Linked DNA regions of Homo sapiens: region 2 is linked to region 1. The links are contacts of gene promoters, found by promoter capture Hi-C in human tissues and cell types (Jung and others, 2019). All regions are on one chromosome and are shown on one strand. Each heading gives the region's core, a stretch centred on a gene start or on the middle of the fragment in contact. The rest is flanking DNA. Distances are from core to core; before and after follow the strand shown.

Region 1 (2,685 bases), core at 135-2,634:
GCACCTGTGAAGCTATAACCACAATCTAGATAGTGAATATTTCCATCATGAGACATAATTTTGAGTATGTCAAAAATGTAAAATTTTGGTGACCATCAGATTTCCAGGGATATCTGGCTTCAGGAGGCCATATTTATTGTTTAGTGAATGATTTTTCTCTAATTTATTGTCATCTTTTGAACATTAGTGCACTAGCAGAACAAAAGATTAGGCAGACTCTGGGCTTTTTCATTTTAGCATTATTGAGGAGCACCTGAATGGTCCTGAAGTTGGCCTTTGAATATACCAATGGACAGGTATGAAATCCTCAAGATGCGCATGGTGGCCAAGAGTCCCACAGTCTCACAGTGTGTGCGGTACCGTCTGCGCCCACCTTTCCTAGAGAAGAAACAGCAGAAAAACCTATTCCTTCACCCTGTGTGTTGTGGTGAATCTTAGTTTTTAAAGGCACATTATTTTATTATATAAACAACTTGGGAACCAATAAAACACAAGACATTTGAAAAGATGGGTCTTCGTATGGGCACAACATATGATAAGGCAAGTCACTTTCCTCCTCTGAGTTTGGGTTTATTTGCTGACTATCTTCCATTTTATCACAGTGAACTGTAAAGAAAAAGATGCAAGCTTCATGGAATGTCCAAATTCTGAAATACAACGGACTGCACAGACAGCTTATGATTAGGATGGCCTTGGCTCAGTGTTTCTGAAAGCAAATGTACAGCTTTTGTCCTTGCCTATTGACACCCTGTTTGCCCTCAGGGCTGGTCAGGGTGAGATCTGTTAAGCTTTTTTTGGAGGCTGTCCTGATAACTCATTTCTTTACTCCACTATTTTCAGGCCCATTCTGGAAACGCAGGATTTAACCGCGGGGTTGCAGCTTCCCTGGTCTCCATCTGCCATCAGAACCCATCTCCACCCCTTCCCCGTTCAGACCTGTGTCCCCTCCACAACTCATACTGGTCACTCTCAGAACTGTGGCCCTGAGTTCTCTAGCTTTCCCTCTTTGCCTCGGGACCCAGGACACCAGTCGGGGCTTAACTTTCTCAGTTGGGAAGGCGACGCTGCTGGTGGCTGCTGCTACTTGCTGGTTCTTCCTTTTTTTTCCTCCCCAAACGAGAGGAAGATTCGAGTGGATTTGGCACATCCCCTAACCGGGGCCTGCCATTTGCAGGTTGGGGGCTGACGTGCCCAGGAGGACCCGGACCAAGCAGGCCATTTTCACCTGCGTAATAACAGGATTGGGAATAGCGAAGCAGCGGCGGCAGCAGCGAGTGGAGTAGGAGGAGGAGCGCAGGCAGCGGCCGCGGCGGGGCCGGAGGAAGAGGAGGGGGGAGAAGGAGGAGCTGAAGCGGGAAGAGCGGCAGGCAGCGGCTCGGCGGAGTTGCAGCAGAGGCGGCGGCGACGCTGAGACACCGCAGCTTCCCTGAGCGCCGAGTCCCTCCGGGGACAGCAGCAGGGAGCGCCCGCGCAGCCACCGAGCCTCTGCCCAGCCAAGCCGCCGTCGCCGCGCCGGGGGACCGCCAGCCATGGCCGCGCCGGGGGATCCGCAGGACGAGCTGCTGCCGCTGGCCGGCCCCGGGTCCCAGTGGCTCAGGCACCGGGGGGAGGGGGAGAACGAAGCGGTGACGCCGAAAGGGGCCACGCCGGCGCCGCAGGCTGGGGAGCCCAGCCCGGGGTTGGGCGCCAGGGCCCGGGAAGCGGCGTCGCGGGAAGCCGGCTCGGGCCCCGCCCGGCAGTCGCCCGTTGCCATGGAAACTGCATCCACAGGTAAGGCGGGCGCCGCTGCCCCTCAAATGGCGTCGGGGACCAGGGCCCCCCAGTCAGTCCCCTTCTGCGCGGCTCTCCTGGGCACCTGCCTCGCGCTTTCTGCCTTGAGCGCCGACCCCACCCCCGCGTCGCCACGGGCGACTGGGAATATTCGCGGGCTGGTAGAAAACAACAATTTTATTTTTCCCAAAGGCTCAGAAAAAGTCAAGATGCTTTTGATCCTTTTATTTCATTATCATGATTATTTCCGCTTTAAAAATTGTTCTCATAGGCAAACAGCAGCATTCTGGCTGCTGGCGAGTCTGGGTACAAGTTTCTCCCTCCTGCCAGGAGGCTCCGAGCTGTAGGGCCCGTTTGACAGGTTGTGGGGATTTTGGGGGGCGTGTTTGCGCGCAGTGTGCGCGCCGGCTACAGGAGATGCTGACAACCGAGCGGCGGGCAGGCCCGCGGCCCCTGGACCCGGCTCTGTCCAGGGCAGAGATGTGGCTGTAACTGCCCCTTACCCTTGCCCTCCACGAATCGCCACCACACCTTACTCCCCCCACATCCCTCCGCCTTTTCTCCCGCAGAAAACAAATCCCAGGGAGTTTGTCCCTAATTCGGGAGGCACAGCTTTGCAAGAGGGTTGGGTGCTGTGGCTGCCCCCGCCCAAAACCTGTATTTCGCCGCTGCCCGGATGGCCCCACCTTGCAGGGAGCATTGAAACTTCAAGTCCTAAGTGCGGCGGGCCTGGCTGTGGGTTGGAGGGCTTGGGTGGTGGTGAGTGGACGTGGTACAGTTTACCAGCAGTCTAAGCGCCCCCCCCCCCCCACCCCGGAAATTGCCCTGGGTTTGGCCATTCTTCGCCTGACGCCCTATTCAAAGTCTGAGCGCGCCAGTGTCCAGCGGGAGCCCAGGCCCCTGGCGCATCCTGGT
Region 2 (2,685 bases), core at 79-2,578, 130 kb after region 1:
CTGCAATAAACATACATGTGCCTGTATCTTTATGATAGGATGATTCCTATTCCTTTGGGTATATACCCAGTAATGGGATTGCTGGGTCAAATTGTATTTCTGCCTCTAGGTCTTTGAGGAATTGCCACACTGTTTTCCACAATGGTTGAACTAATTTACACTTCCACTAACAATGTAAAAGCATTCCTTTTTCTCCACAACCTTGCCAGCATTTGTTGTTTTTTGACTTTTTGGTAATAGCCATTCTGATTTTGTAAGATTGTACCTCATTATAGTTTTGATTTATATTTATCTAATTATAAGTGCTGTTGAGCTTTTATTCATGTTTGTTGTCTGCATGTATATCTTCTTTTGAGAAGTGTCTTTTCATGTCCTTTGCCCAATTTTTAATGAGGTTGTTTATTTTTTTTCTTGTAAATTGTTTAAGTTCTTTGTAGATGCTGGATATTAGACCTTTGTCAGATGCATAGATTGCAAATATTTTCTCCCATTCTGTTCTGTTCACTCTGATGATAGTTTCTTTTGCTGTGCAGAAGCTTTTAGTTAATTAGATCCCATTTGTCAGTTTGAGCTTTTGTTGCAATTGCTGTTGGTGTCTTTGTAATGAAATCTTTGCCCATGCCTATGTCCTGAATGGTATTGCCTAGATTTTCTTCTAGGGTTTTTATAGTTTTGGGTTTTACATTTAAGTCTTTAATCCATCTTTAGTTGATTTTTGTACATGTGTAAGGAAGGGGTCCAGTTTCCATTTTCTGTATATTGCTAGCCAGTTATCCCAGCACCATTTATTACATAGGGAATTCTTTCCCCATTGCTTGTTTTTGTAAGGTTAGTCAAAGATCAGATGGTTGTAGGTATGTGGTCTTATTACTGGTTTCTTTATGCTGGTCCATTGGTCTATGTGTCTGTTCTTGTACCAGTACCATACTGTTCTGGTTACTGTAGCCTTGTAGTGTAGTTTGAAGTCAAGTAGCATAATGCCTCCAGCTTTGTTCTTTGTCTTAGGATTGTCTTGGCTATTCTGGCTCTCTTTTGGTTCCAAATGAATTTTAAAATAGTTTTTTCTAATTCTGTGAGGAATGTCAATGGTAGTTTAATGGGAATAATGTTGAATCTATAAGTTGTTTTGGGGAGTATGGCCATTTTCATGATATTGATTCTTCATATCCATGAGCATGGAATGTTTTTCCATTTCTTTGTGTCATCTCTGATTTCTTTGGGCAGTTGTTTGTAGTTCCCCTTGAAGAGGTCCTTCACATCCCTTGTTAGCTGTATTCCTAGGTATTTTATTTTTGTGGCAATTGTGAGTGGGAATTCATTCATGATTTGGCTCTCTGCTTGCCTGTTGTTGCTGTATAGGAATGCTAGCAATTTTCACACATTGATTTTATATCCTGAGACTTTGCTGAAGTTGCTTATCAGCTTAAGAAGCTATTGGACTGAGAAAATGGGATTTTCTAGATATAGGATCATGTCATCTGCAAACAAAGATAGTTAGATTTCCTCGCTTCCTATCTGAAAACAATTTATTTCTTTCTCTTGCCTGATTGCCCTGGCCAGAACTTCCAATACTGTGTTGAATAGGAGTGGTGAGAGAGGGCATCCTTGTCTTGTGCTGCTTTTTAATAGGAATGCTTCCAGCTTTTGCCTATTTAGTATGATATTGGCAGTGGGTTTGTCATATATGGCTCATATTATTTTGAGGTATGTTCCTTCAAAACCCAGTTTATTGACAGTTTTTAATATGAAGGAATGTTGAATTTTATTGAAGACCTTTTCTGCATCTATTGAGATAATCATGTGGTTTTGTCTTTAGATCTGCTTATGTGATTAATCACATGTTTTGATTTGCATATGTTGAACCAAAGTTGTAAACCTACTTGATTGTGGTGGATAAACTTTTTGATGTGCTGCTGGATTCAGTTTGCCAGTATTTTATTGAGGATTATTGCATCAGTGTTCATCAACAATATTGGCCTGAAGTTTTATTTTTTTGTTGTATCTTTTCCAGGTTTTGGTATCAGGATGATGCTGGCCTCATAGAATGAGTTAGGGAGGAGTCCCTCCTTTTCAATTTTTCTGGAATAGTTTCAATAGAAATGGTACCAGCTCTTCTTTATACCTCTGGTAGAATTCAGCTGTAAATGTCCCTGGTCCTGGGCTTTTGTTTGGTTGGTAGGCTATTTATTGTTGTCTCAATTTCAGAACTTGTTATTGGTCTATTTAGGGATTCAGTTTCTTCCTGGTTGAGTCTTTGCAGGGTGTATGTCTCCAGGAATTTATCCATTTCTTCTAGATTTTCTAGTTTATATGCATAGAGGTGTTTATAGTATTCTCTGATCATTGTTTGTATTTCTGTGGGGTCAGTGGTGATATCTCCCTTATCATTTCTGATTGTGTTTATTTGATTCTTCTCTTTTCTTCTGTATTAGTCTAGCTAATGGTTGATTTTTAAAATTATTTTTTAAAAAAACAGCTCCTAGATTTGTTTATTTTTAAAGGGTTTTTCATGTCTCTGTCTCCTTCAGTTCATCTTTGTTCTTGTCTTCTGCTAGCTTTGGGGTTTGTTTGCTCTTGGTTCTCTAGTTCTTTTAGTTGTGATGTTAGGTTGTTAACTTAAGATCTTTCTAGCTTTTTAATGTGGGCATTTAATGCTATAAATTTCCCTCTTAACACTGCTTTAGC

What was found. Contacts are between HindIII fragments. The study calls those that stand out against the background at their distance.
Region 2: a contact is called between a fragment that was not itself captured here and the fragment with the promoter of RTN1 in region 1, in 3 of the 25 tissues and cell types used here (H1 embryonic stem cells, liver and mesendoderm cells).

Annotation. Positions count from the first base shown.
Region 1 is chr14:59,869,475-59,872,159 of GRCh38, reverse strand. RTN1 (reticulon 1) reads left to right here and starts at 1,384. Exons shown (of 9, transcript NM_021136.3): 1 at 1,384-1,770. The coding sequence starts at 1,530. RefSeq lists a silencer at 1,376-1,475. The HindIII fragment of the contact is 4,177 bases long and covers 218-2,685 here.
Region 2 is chr14:59,736,032-59,738,716 of GRCh38, reverse strand. The region is part of intron 2 of RTN1 (reticulon 1); the gene reads left to right. Among named protein-coding and RNA genes, the nearest start is that of MIR5586, 90 kb to the right of the region's middle. The HindIII fragment of the contact is 6,932 bases long and covers 1-2,685 here.